Regions from separate parts of the Homo sapiens genome. Here all the other regions are linked to region 3. Evidence: promoter capture Hi-C in 16 types of primary human blood cells and fetal thymus (Javierre and others, 2016). All regions are on one chromosome and are shown on one strand. The core of a region is centred on a gene start or on the middle of the fragment in contact, and the rest is flanking DNA. Distances in the headings are between cores, read along the strand shown. Region 1 has its middle 42 kb from the start of TSPAN17. Region 2 has its middle 33 kb from the start of LINC01574. Region 3 holds the start of HK3 (hexokinase 3).

What was found. The method cuts DNA at HindIII sites, captures the fragments that hold promoters and counts their contacts. A CHiCAGO score of 5 or more calls a contact.
Region 1: a fragment that was not itself captured here is called in contact with the fragment with the promoter of HK3 in region 3 in 1 of 17 cell types (endothelial precursors); the score reaches 5.6 in endothelial precursors.
Region 2: a fragment that was not itself captured here is called in contact with the fragment with the promoter of HK3 in region 3 in 1 of 17 cell types (endothelial precursors); the score reaches 7.2 in endothelial precursors.

Annotation. Positions count from the first base shown.
Region 1 is chr5:176,687,670-176,692,246 of GRCh38, forward strand. No RefSeq gene overlaps it. Among named protein-coding and RNA genes, the nearest start is that of TSPAN17, 42 kb to the left of the region's middle. The HindIII fragment of the contact is 5,662 bases long and covers 1-4,577 here.
Region 2 is chr5:176,707,933-176,712,411 of GRCh38, forward strand. No RefSeq gene overlaps it. Among named protein-coding and RNA genes, the nearest start is that of LINC01574, 33 kb to the right of the region's middle. RefSeq lists an enhancer at 4,350-4,479. The HindIII fragment of the contact is 6,145 bases long and covers 1-4,479 here.
Region 3 is chr5:176,897,801-176,902,222 of GRCh38, forward strand. HK3 (hexokinase 3) reads right to left here and starts at 1,546. Exons shown (of 19, transcript NM_002115.3): 1 at 1,467-1,546. RefSeq lists an enhancer at 2,366-2,867. The HindIII fragment of the contact is 6,874 bases long and covers 1-2,343 here.

The sequences.
Region 1 (4,577 bases), core at 1,533-4,032, 210 kb before region 3:
CTAGCTCAGAGAGGCCTCCCAGGTCTGGGCTCCCTAAAGGGCTGCAGGTCTTCTCTCCTCTTCGCCTGCAATGTGGTGAGCAAGGGCCGTGTTTCAGCCCTGTTCATGTTATAGCTCTTTTAGCTCCACCATTTGGCGGTCCCGAGTTCTTCTCCTGCAGCCAGAAAGAATGAGGTATGCAAACAAGTGCAGGGTGAGCAAGATGAAGAAGAGCTTACTGAGCAACAGAACAACTCACAGGAGACCTACAGGGGGTAGCTCCTTTCTGCAGCCAGGGTGTCCCAATGAGTGTTCAGCTCCTAGCAGAGAGGAGACCCTGGAGTGTGAAGCTCCTCTCTGCTGCTAGTCATCCCACTGTCTGCTCAGCTCTGGCTGAGCCCAGGGCTTTTATGGGCCTCAGAGGCGGGGACGTGCATGCTGATTGGTCCACGGGCGGCCATGGGCAGACCCAGAAAAGACACTTGGGTCAGTGGGACTGGAAGCCTGGCCCCCAGCTTTCAGGCTCTCCCTGGCCTGAAGATGGAGCCTCACTGGGGACTGCCGCCTTCTGCCCAGGAATTTGTCTGCCTCCTGCTGCAGTTCATGGCACTGGGCTCAGCCCTGATAGCAAGGAGAAGCCAGGCAAGGGGAGCAGGCACTTCCAAGCCTGCAAGGGCAGGGGGACTTCCCAAGCCTCCAAGAGTGCAGGGATGCCTGAGCCTGCAGCAGCAGTTTGGGGGTGGGGGGTGGGGGCAGGGCTCCTGTCTGCTCCTGGAGTGGGAAGCCCAGGTCTGCAGCCTTGGTTTGGGCGGTTGCAGCTGCACCCAGGAGGGCAGGGTTCCTGTCTGTTCCTGGCCCCACAAGAGCACAGGGAGACTCGGATCCGCAGCCAGGACTTGGGTGGCTGCAATGTCACCTGGGGAGCTCCTACCCCAGCTTGGAAAGGGTGGGACTCCTGTCTGTCCCCACCTGTGCAGCCCTGGCTGTGACTCCCTGCTGCAGCCGGCATGATGGAGCCACTGCTGCCATCAGTAAGAAAACAAAAAACCCATTTAAAAACTGGACAAAAGATCTGAACAGATACTTTACAAAAGAGGATATAAAGATGTCCAATAAGCATATGAAAAGATGTTCAACATCATTATCCATTAGGGCAATAGGTACAACTACACATCCACTAGAATGAATAAAATAAAAGTTCTGACAATACCAAGTGGAATGCTCACACATTGCTGATGAGAACTCAAAATGGCACCACCCGTCTGGAAATTGATTTATCAATTGTTTATAAAGTTAAATATATGCTTACCATGTGACCCAGCAATTCCACTCCTGGGGATTTACTCTACAGAAATGAAAACTTATGTTCCCATGAAAACTGACCCATGGCTGGACATGGGAGCTCACGCCTGTAATCCCAGCACTTTGGGAGGATGAGGCAGGAGGATCACTTGAGTCCAGGAGTTCGAGACCAGCCTGGGCAACATAAGGAGACCCTGTCTCAACAACAACAACAACAAAAATAGCAGGGCATGGTGGTGCACGCCTGTAGTCCCAGTTACTTGGGAGGCCAAAGCAGGAGGATTGCTGCAGCCCAGGAGTTCAAGGCTGCAGTGGGCTATGATTACATCACTGCACTCCCGCCTGGGCGACTAAGTGGGATTCAGTCTCAAGAAATTAAATAAATAAACAAATAAATAAATTACTGTGAGGAAAAACATTATTGAAAACTTAGTCCCTGTTGGTCTCCAGTAAGTTGTGGGTGTACAAAGCGGAATCCGGTAAGGTCCACATTTGTGGGCATCTTCCAAACAAAGCCAGCAACAGCGTGACATAAGGGGGTAGGAGGAGGGTCAAGTTTCACCCTAATTGCCACCTTCTCAGAGAGGCCTTCCCTGACCCTCCCCACACAAAGTAGCATCCTTGTATGAGTTTCCTGTTGCTGCTGTAATAAACCACCCCAAGATTAGATGTTTAAAACAATGCACACTTATATCTTACGGTCCTGGGGGACACAAGTCCAACCTGGGTCCCATTGGACTAACATCAAGGTGTGGGCAGGGCTGTGTTCTTCCTGGAGGCTCGTAGGGGGAGTCTGTTTCCTTGCTTCTTCCAGCTGCCCGAGGTCACCTGTCCTCCCCCATCCTCATGGCCCCCTTTTCCCCCTTCAAGTTGGGCTGAGTCCCTCCTGCACTCTCACTCTCTGGTTCTCTTCCCTCTGTCTCCCTCTTCCATCTCTAAGGACTCTTGTGATTCTACTGGGCCTATCAGATAATTCAGGACAACGTCCCCAACTCAAGGTCAGCTCATGAGCCACCTGCAATGGCTTCTGACACTAACTGCCTGGAATTAGGCCAGACTCCACAGGCTAAGGGTACATTCCTCCGCAAGACTGCCCTCACTTCAGACACCAGCCACAGGAGCAAGGGGCCCCAGGCCACCCCCACTTCTCACCAGCTGCCTACACATTCAGGGGCTCTCACTGCACCCTCAGGTTTGATAATTTGTTAGAATGACTCAGAACTCAGGAAAGGGCTATACTTACGATGATAAACGGATACAATCAGAACCAACCCAAGAGACAGACCCACAGGGTGAGGTCTGGGAGAGTCCCAAACATGAAGTGTCCATCATGATCTCCCTGTGGAGTCAGGACGCATCCCCCTCTGAGACATCAACGTGTGACAAAACAGAGTATTGTCAGTCAGGGATGCACACCTGAGCTTTGGTGTTGAGTTTTTATTGGGGTTTCATTACATGGACACAATTGCTTGAATGGGCTGCATCATTGGCCGTGAAGCTGAACCCCATCTCCATCCCCCTCTCCTCCATGGAGGTCGGGCTGATATCATGTGTGGCTCACAGCCCCACCCTCTCATCACAGGGCTGGTCTTTCTGGCATGTCCAGCCCTGATCCTGAGCCACCTCCTTGGCATAAAGTAACAGCTATTGTCTGAGTGACTGCAAGTAACAAGACACCCATCACTCAGGAAATTCTAAGGATTTAGAGGCTACCTCCCAGGAACTGGGTACAAAGGCCAGCCAGATTCTTTATGATTCACAACCTTAAGTCCATCTTCACCTTTAACTCTCCTTGGAGTGTGACCTGACATAGTCACAGGTTCCAGGGATTAGACTGAGGACATCTTTGGGGGGCTATTATTCTGCCTGGCACAACCTCCCAGTGTCTAACACATCACCCTGCTTTGTTTTTATTACAATACTGGTGCCTTTGTAAAATGGTCTTATTTTGTTGTTTATTTGCTTATGGCCTGTCTCTTCCTCTGGAGTGTCAGCTATATAAGGGTACCTTGGAGCACCCTGAGCTGACCTAGGCACGTCATGTGTGCCAAATGACAGAGGGAGAAGAGAAAGAGTTGGAGGAGGCAACATTTGAGCTGGTCCTGGAAGGATGAGCGGAGTGCTGCAGGGTGAGCAGGGACTCTGGCCAGGAGCAACAGGTGAATAGAGCCAGAGGAGGGCTTAGGGACTGGGTGGGTCAGGGAGCACTGGGTGGATTGTTGTGGCCGGAGCACTGGGGTGTGTCGTGGGAAGGAGGCAGATGTTGGGAGCTGATCAAGACAGGCAGCTTAGACACAACTGCACGTGGCCAGGCGACAGACCTGAGGGCACCTGCGCTATCTGCTCTAGTGCCTTCTCTCTCTGACACAGGTGCCAGGAGGGAAGCACCAGGGTATGACAAATAGGGATGGACCCTGGAGTCAGCCAGCAGTTGTGTAGTTGTGACCATGGGCAAGTCACCTCACCCCCCCATGGCTGTCACTGAGGCTGGCCCACTTTCCTGTCCAACCCTCTTCTCTTTGCTTTCCTCTAAGGCGGAGCCTGGAGAGCTCAGTTTCCCAATCTCTCTTGCGGCAAGTGCCACCAATCTGGCCAATGAGCTGGAGAAAGAATCTTTGAGGGTGTTCTGGGAGTGGAAAGGGCCCAGTAAAAAGAGGGATAGACTCAGCTGGATCAGAATTTGGCCTTCTCCTCTGCTTCCGGCTTAGAAGGCCACATGATGTCAGGAGCAGCAGCAGCCACCTTGTGACCATGAGGGGCAAGCTAAGAGTAATGTCCTAAGGCTGGCAGGAAGATGGGAAGTTCCCTGGCCTGGAAGGATATCACTGAGCAACTGGGCCAGTGCCAGCAATCACCCACCTCTGGGTATTAGTTGGGCATTCTGTTACTCACAAACACAGCCCTGATTAATACACTCTCTAGGCCTCAGTTTCCTTTACTGTTCACTGGAGCTAATTATATTTATCAATATTCATTCCACTCATGTTGTGTACCAGGAAGTCCTCTAGGTGCTGGTGGCAGAGCAGTGAACAAGAGATAAGGTTCCCATTCCTTATCTATTTATTTATTTTTGAGACAGAGTCTCACTCTGTCACCCAGGCTGGAGTGCAGTGCTGCAATCTCGGCTCACTGCAATCTCTGCCTCCTGGGTTCAAGCAATCCTCCCACCTCAGCCTCCCAAGTAGGTGGGACTACAGGCATGCACCACCATGCCTGGCTAAAGTTGTTGTTTTGTTTTGTTTTGTTTTGGTAGTGACAGGGTTTCACCATGTTGGCTAGGCTGGTCTCGAACTCCT
Region 2 (4,479 bases), core at 604-3,103, 190 kb before region 3:
CAAGAAAAGAAGTCCCATAAGCTGGGCAGAGAGAGACAACAGCCCCAGTGACCCTGTCCTCTCCGACTCTGCCAGCACCGTGTGCTTCCCTTGCTCTCCACAGATGCCTCTTCCTCCCTGTGTAGAGCTTGGGTGCGGGAATCATGCCCTCTTCTGTTCCTGTGGTCAGGAGGTGCTTAATAAGCCCTGCAGAACAACACAGAGCGTGGCTCGAAATTGGGTGTTGCAATCACAGCCACTGTGGATGGAGGAGCTACCTCTACCAGGTGCTTCATAAATACCGTTTTCAGGAATTACACTTGACAAGATAGAGGACAGGAACGGTGGCTCATGCCCGTAATCCCAGAACTTTGGGAGGCCGAGGCAGGAGGATCACTTGAGCCCAGGAGTTTGAGACGAGCCTGGGGAAGATAGCGAGACCCTGTCTCTACACAAAATACAAAAATTAGCTGGGTGTGGTGGTGCACACCTGTGGTCCCAGCTACTCAAGAGGCTGAAGTGGGAGGACTGCTTGAGCCAGGCAGGCGGAGATTGCAGCGAGCCGTAATGGCCCTACGGCACTCCAGCCTCGGGGACAGAGTGAGACCCTGTCTCAAAAAAAGAAAAAAAACCGAAAAAGCAAGATAGAGGTGAGAAAATGCAGGTCCAGAGATGGGAAGCAATTGCCCAGGTCACACAGCTGGTGAGCAATAGAGCTGGGATCCTCACTGTGTCTGGCTGATGCGTTCTATAACCCCTGGCTTCACCTCTCTGCCGGTACCCCCTCCCAGCCCTCCAAATGTGAGCTCCAGGGGCCTGCAAACAGCCTGAAAATATTAAGCTGCTTCTATTTGATTTGGTCTCTTTTCTGACTATTCCTTGGTACCAGAAGAAACCCCATGTAGGTGAGTAGTTGGGCTTGTTCCAGGGGGAAATGGACAGTGACTTTGCCACCTCTTCTGAGGCCTGGCTTCCTTGCAGGGGGTAATGGGCCCGCTGCTGTCAGGGTCTTTGCACTCGCCGTTCCTCTGCCAGGGATGCTCTTCCTGCAGGTCCCTCTGCTCCCTCTCATCATCCCTGTCTCAGCAAAAATGTCAGGTCCTCTGGGGCCTTGCCTAATAGCCCTCCGCCCCCGGAAGCATCACCCTACAGCATCCTCACTGTCATTTTCCCGTTTACTAGCTTCGTGTTATTATCTCATCCCACTAGGACGGGAAGTTCCAGGGAAGAGGGGACCTATCTTGTCTTATTCACAGACGGGGGATCCTCAGGGCCCAGAACAGTCCCCAGTGCATGTGGGTGCTCAAGAAAGACTTTGAAAATGGGAAGAGGGAACGAGTGGTCTCACAGAGCTCATGATGTGCTGTTTCTGATTTTTTTATTTTCTTTTCCTCCCTCCCTCCCTCCCTTCCCTCCCTCCCTCTCTCCCTCCCTCCTTCTTTCCTTCCTTCCTTCCTTCGTTTCTTTCTTTCTTCTTTCTTTTTCTTTCTTTCTTTCTTTCTCTTTCTTTCTTTCCTTCTTTTTCTTTCTTTTTTGAGACAGGGTCTCACTACATTGCCCAAGCTGGTCTCGAACTCCCAGGCTCAAGTGATCCTCCTGCCTTGGCCTCCCAAAGTGCTGGGATTACAGATGTGAGCCACCGCACCCAACCAGTTCCAAATTTCTGAGGTCTTCAAGCCCTCCTTGCATTTTGTGGCCTACCTGCTGGGAGGGAACGTCTGCTTGGCAGGCTGGCTTGTCTTTGCTCCCAGCCAGAGCTGCTGGAATAACAAGCAGGGCAGGAGCCTTTTCTCCAAGGGGGGCTGACCTGCCCTCTGAGGCAGTGCCCATGGGCTGGGCTTAAGAGCTGACTTGCAGGACAGTTGTCCCAATGGGGTCCCTGGGACTCGTGTCTGTCCCCTGGGGCTGCACGTCGCTTGAGTGCCCAGTGAGGTGGCTTGGGAGGGATTTAGCAGCGGCCACACTGCACTGCTCTGCGCCTCACCACTGCAGCAGGATGGAGCGGGGAGGGAGTGACAAGGGGCTCACGCCAGTCTCCAGTGGCCAGAGAGCTTGACAGGTGGTTCCAGGGCCTATCCAGTCTCTCCATAGGCACTGGGACAGTGACTGAGTCTCTCCTTACTTACTCCCAGGCTTCTGCCCCTCCAGCATCCTGACACCATGGCTTGCTTTTTCGGGGCTCTCCCAGCCTTTCCCTACGATCCTACCACCTTTGTCGCCTCCACACCCATTTCTTTGTTTCTAGGAAAATCGGAGTCTCTCCTCCATCCCTCTCCCACTCTCCTAGACTGGTGGAGAGAAGTGACCAGTGAACCCAGCTGGGCACTGGATGGAATGTGAAAACTCTTGAGACATAGGACAGGAGTTACAGCCGATCTCTGCCCTTTTCCCAGAAAGAAGGCGAAGGTGAAGTCCAAGGTTTCTACACCACAGCAGGCCAGGCCAGGAAGCAGGTGAGAGCAGTGGCGCCTCTGGAACGGCATCCAAATGTCTTTAGAAGGTCTGAGAAGCCCCTGCCAGCTGCCCCGGTGTCACCCACACTATTCCAGGCTGCAGCTCACTGGCCCCATCGCTCGGTTCTCCCTCACACAGGCCCTCTGCCTGGCACAGGACCGTGCCCAGCTGTGCCCTCTGTCCAGAACACTCCCCTGGGGCTTGTCAAGGCTCACCACTCCTTGTCATTCAGGTCCCAGCTCTTGCACCATTAAAGCGTCCATCAGATTCATCAGGAGGGCTTGGGACATCCAGATGGCTGGGCAGCAGAACAGCTCCTCAGCAGGCAGGTCCAGGTAGGGCCTGGGAATCTGCATTTCTAACAAGTTCTCAGGATTGCTTTGGGTTTTGTTAGTTTGCCATTTCCACTGCAGCAGATGAAACTCCACAAGGGCTGACCCCGAGTTGTTTTCATTCTGAGTATCCACAGCCTGGCACACAGTAGGCGCTCAATAAATACTGATTGGATAAATGAACAATTCGACACACCCTCCCATCGATTAGACAGGAGCTTTCCCCATGCTGGGACCTCAAGGGCTCCCTCACGCGTAGGACACCTCGGCATGATGTGTGGAGCTGCTGCGCGCTGGAAATTCCAGAGCTGAACAAATGCTGCCCCCTGTCCTTGGGCACACACCCCTCTAATGAGCCAAAGGAGGCTATTCTAAGGCAGCCGAATGCTGCATGTTCTCCAGTGTGTAACTGTGCTGCTGACACTTCCTTAGACAACCTGGGAAATGTAGGCAAAATTATTATTATCGTTGTTGTTGTTATCAATATTTATTATACGCATTGTGTAGGATGAGCCATTTCACGCCTGGTTTTTAATCAGTTTCTGTTCCCTGAAGACAGTCTGGTGAGTAACTCGTTAGAAAACTGTAGTGAGCTGGAGTCCTCCAACACACCTGTTGGAAGACCCAGTTCAGGACAGCTTCCAGGCCCTGAGCTGGGCAGTGGGGAGCCCTGGGGCCCTGGAGACAGAGGGCATCCACAGCTGTTTTGAAAGCTCACATCCAAACTTTAGAATGTGGAAAGATTGAACTCTTTTTTATTTTTGTATATATATATATATATATATTTTTTGTAGAGATGGGGTCTCACCATGTTGCCCAGGCTGATCTCAAACTCCTGGACTCAAGCAATCCTCTTGCCTCAGCCTCCCATGGTGGAGAGGACTGAACTCTTAAGATAATTCCCATAAGTAAGTGATGTCTGGTCCCTCACTGCTTTACAAATGCCCCTGCCCTCATTGCCTTCCTTAAAACCCATCACACAGGCCTGTCTATGGAGGCAGGACCAGAGAGGCAGGGCGCACAAGTGAGGGCGCTTGTGTGCCCTTTGAGCAGGGGATCTGGGGGACCAAGGGGTAAGGGAGCAGAAGAGGAGCCTGAAGCCACTGTGACTATCACCCGCCCCGGCAGGGCTCTGCGCCCCCCGACGCCCCGCTCCAGTTAGGAGTGGTGCATGCTCCACCCCCTGCTTCCAGCCAGCCTCCCACCCACCCCCATCCAGGGAGTGCTGGGGGATGGCCCCGGGTCTGGGGGGAGCTGCCACAAGAAAGACACATTTCCTGCCTAATGGAGGTGGTTGGGTTGGTAATGAGTGTTCCTGCTAATTTGGAGGAATGATTTAACACCAGGAGGAGCCCGGGAAAACATCTTCTGAATAGAAAGAGTGGAACGACCCCCACCAGGCGGCGGCTCCGAGTACCGTGTTACTTCTTGGGCCTTTGGATCTGTCTACACAGGGAGGGACTGAGAATCCCAGGAACTGCATCCCTAGGAAGGAAGTGGGAAGGCAGGTGCCAGCTCAGTGTCTGGAGCTAAAGAAGGGAGGAAAGCCCCTACACACAGGTTCTCCCACCCCTCAGTGAGGCATTGGGTGCAGGGCCCAGTAGAGAGGCGGGAGAGCTGCTTGTGGACCGTGGTCGGCCACCTCGCCAGCTGGACACCTCTGGGCCTCACTGTCTTCCCAGCTGCAGGGATTAAAGGGGACAGCGAGGGGTGG
Region 3 (4,422 bases), core at 296-2,795:
CAAGGTTTCATTAATAGCTGTGTCAGGGCTCCCAAATCTACCTTTGGCCTCAGCCAAATCCTAAATCCCAGTGGTCTGTTAGACATCACTATCTGGATGGTGGAGAAGCTCCTCAAATTCAACAAAGCCATACTCATTTTTCCATCACCTTACCCCCACAAAGCTCTTCTGTTCTCCACCTTGACTGGAGACATCGAAGTGTGCTCACTCACACGGCCGTTCGGGCTGCCTGCGCGCATCCCTCACCCTCACCTCCTCTATGCAATTGGATCTCAGGCTCTCTAAGAGCTCTCCTCTGCATCCCCTCCTCCCCATTCCCACACACTGCACCAGACCATCCTCCGGCCTGATTATTACAACAGCCTCCTAAACTGATAGCTCTGCTTCTAGTTTCTTCACCTCCTTACCCCACCCAACTTGATCACCTCTGCACTCATGGCCGGCACAGGGTCTGGTATAGGTATGTGCTAATGTGCCTTTCCAAAATTGGAAGCAAGGGGAGTGGGTAGTTTTTTATTTAATAAAGCAACAAATCAGCTTCTGATAAATCTCCCCAAACCATACATACCTATGCTGAGTTTCCAAATCTGTCAAATAGGGGTGTGGAATTCTTGTTCTATGCTGCAGGTCTATTTCAAGGATAAAATGAGGTAACTGGGGCAATTACCTTCGAAAAGGACTAAGGGCTACACACGTGTCTTTCTCAAGGCCCAGCTAGTTCATTTATTCATTCACTCACTCATTCATTCCCTCATCCATTCAATATTTATTCAGCATTTTTACATGACAGAATCTGTGAAGCAATCCCCAAGTAGCCCTAATATTTATATGCTAGGTAAATGTATTCAGCTCTGTCTCTTCCCACTGAGATTCCCTGTGGGGAGGGACATGTCTCCTTCACTGCAGTATCCCCAGAGCCCAGGGTCTGTTTGCCTAAGGGCCCCGTGGCTTCCCTTAGCTGAATGGGCTACACGAAGTGAGTTTTCCTCCTGAAAAGTACCCCAGGGACCTCTACTGATGTTGGGAGCTGCCATCGAGAACCAGCTGGCAGGCTGGGTGTGGTGGCTTGCACCTGTAATCCCAGCACTTTGGGAGGCTGAGGCAGACAGACTGCTTGAGCCCAGGAATGTGAGACTAGCCTGGGCAACATGGCAAAACGCCATCGCTAGAAAAAAATAACAAAAATTAGCTGGGTGTGGTGGTGTGCGCCTGTAGTCTCAGCTACTCCGGAGGCTGAGGTGGGAGGATCACTTGAACCCAGGAGGTCAAGGCTGGAGTGAGCCCTGACTGTGCCACTGTACTCCAGTCTGGGTGATAGAGAGAGAGACCCCATCTCAAAAACAAAGAAAGAGAACCAGCTGGCTTAATCTTTCCAGTGTCCACTTCCCCTGGTGTGAGCCAAACAGGAGGGATGAGGACAAGACAGCTGTGGAAGGAGCAGGCAGTAATTAGACCGAAGTGCTTACCTGGGACACAGAGAAGCTAGTCACTCTCCTCAGGTCTGAGCTCTTGTCTGGCAATATGAGGCACCCCAATGACCAAAAGCAACACTCAGGGGTGACCCGAGTTATAATATCCTCAAGCCCCACCCTTTTCCTCCACCACCACTTACCAAACATCAGCTAATTCAGGAAGCTGCACTTCCTTCCAAGCCTGCCCTAAGAGTAGCCCAGGCTAGGCAAGGCTGTGGTGAAAACTTGAGCAAGATGATTACCGCGAAGTGGAGCGTTGAACTGGGTCTAAGATTTTGGGCCATTCCCTCTACAATGCTGAGGGCTGTTTATTTTGCAAATATAGTGAGTTCTGAGGTGGTGGCTCGCCCCTAGAAGGAGCTGGAGGCGCCTAGCCTGGAAAGGTTATGGTAAGTACTTTTGAGCAAGAGGCAATGTGGGAGCACAAGCGGAAGGGACTGACTCTGCCGAGAGTGGGCAGGGCTAGCTGAAGAAGCTGAGTCTTGAAGAAAGAACAGCAGTATGCTGACAAAAGTGGTCCTTGACAAAGTGGAGAGCATGTGCACAACCACAAATCACACACACACAGCAATGAGGTGCAGCTCCAGGCGCCTGAAGAGGGTACACCAAGGTAGGAATATATAGTGGGAGAGGAGGTGACAGGCAGACTGCGGAGTCTAGCCTTTAGTCTGTAGCCTGCGCAGGGAGAGTAGGTTCACATCTTAGGTCTTCTCTACTGGAAGAAGGGGAGTGTTAGGCTGCTGTGGAGCTATTGGCGAACAAGCTGTTTTTCTGTGGGAATTTCTCCTCAAAGGCACAGAACCTTGGGGCACCAATGTAGAATACTAGACAGCCTGCAACAATCTTTGTTGAAGGCATGGATACACTTTAAAGCTTCAGGCTGCCTTGTCAGCAGTAACTCTATCCACAGATAGTAGGCCTCCACATGACATCAGGATGGAGACCAGAGATAGTGGCTCCTCTATCAGTAGTGGCATGAAGAGGCCAGGAAACATGCCAAACATCAGTCCTGCTGTGAAGTTTACTGGGTACCAACCAGGCATATAGGCTGTGAAAGGCAGGGAAGTGGGGGATGGGGTGGCAGAGGGTAGAGTGGCTGTCACAAACAACACAGCATCCTGCCTAGCCTGGGATCCCAGTCCCTTTCAACTTTGTTCAGTTGGGAGAGGAGAATGTGGAACTGACTATGAAAGGCCCAGCTGTGATTCATGCAGATAGCCTGCCATTTCTTGAGCCAGGGTGAGGATATGCCCCTGACAAGCATGGCCAGGGCTCTTCATCTGCGTTTCTGGAAGGTCTGTGTCCAGACCCCAGGAGCAGGGGTCCTGGTTCCCTAGTCAGAATGCCAGGGAAAGTCTGGGTCAAGGCCAGTGGAGGGAGAAGGATGGCTGAGCTTGAGGTCTGTGAGCAGCTGGGACAGCCTGGCTGTAGCAGAGGCACTGCAGCTGCCAGCGGTTCTCTTCAGACACCAGATGGCCACTGACCAACAAAGGGAAGGACAAGTCCTCACGAGGTTCCCTCATAGCCCCTTAGTGCCAATCTCCAACTGTAGAGATGGAGCTAAGGAATGAGGAAAGGCAGTTTGCTGGGGGAGAGGTGGGCACAACCAGAGCACTGCCGATGGGCTGGGAGGTCAGGCCTTCCCTCTGCGCTTGCTCACAGGCTTCTCACCACTCACAGTGCCCATGCCAGGCACAGAGATCCTCAATAAGCTCCCCCAATTTGTTCCACACCCTTTATACCGTGAATGTGCCTTGCAGCTCTCCTACACACATCGAGCTACTTCTGTTGTGTCTTTGTTTGCACTGACTTGTCTGGAATGACCCTCCCTTTGGCCTCTCCCACCTTTTCACCTCATTTTTCCTCATCCCTTAAATTATAATCATCAACGACAATGAGGAGCCCTTCTCTGAAAAGCTCCTCCTGGCCGACCCCAGCTGAGTGTGGTCTGCTTATTGGTTCCGTATTATGATGCATGTTCTTGTATCACTGCATTTATATCTGTTTATTAAAGGCATCTGTTTATGTGTTCTTCTTCCCCATTGTACTATGGGCTCCCAGAGAATGTTTCTTATTCACCCGTGCAGCCTCAGACCTCAGTTCTTTATCTGGCAAGGAACAAGTATCAATTAATTTTTGTTAAATTGAAGAGCCCTCCCACAATCTCAATAGTCCACGGCTGGCCAAGCATGATGGCTCACGCCTGTAATCCCAACACTTTGGGAAGCCGAGGTGGACGGATCACTTGAGGTCAGGAATTCATGATCAGCCTGGCCAATACAGTGAAACCCCGTCTCTACTAAAAATTAAAAAAATTAGCCGGGCGTGGTGGTGTGCACCTGTAATCCCAGCTACTCGGGAGGCTGAGGCAAGAGAATTGCTCGAACCTGGGAGGCAGGGTAAGTTGCAGTGAGCCGAGATCACGCCACTGTACTCCAGCCTGGGTGACAGAGCAAGACTGTCTCAAAAAAAAAAAAAAAAAAAAAAAAAGTCCAGGGCTTTTGAAACTGAGAGGAAGCAAGCAAGCTCTTACTGTCTTCCTGGTGCATATGGTTTCAGCAGTCTTTCCACTAGTCCATCTTTCCACTGACAACTACAACCCTCTCATCCACTTACTACCTGCCTTCCCCTCCCCAAATTCCCATCTGCTAACAACCTAAGGCCAAAGCTACCCTGATTCACAGGCAAAAATGAGCTCATCCAAACCTGAAATTTCCCTTGAGTCATTAGTTTTGTGACTGAAATGAGAAGTAGGAAGTAGTGTGCTATAGTACAGAAAGCTTCAGCTCTGGGGTCAGGCAGACCTGGTTTCAAAATCCCATCTCATTACCAACTGAAAGACCTTAGACAAATTTCTTATTCCTCTGAGCCTCGGTTTTCCTTGTATAAAACTTGGAGACTGATGTCTTCATAGGATTTGCTTTAGGTTAGGTAAACCCAGAGGCAGACC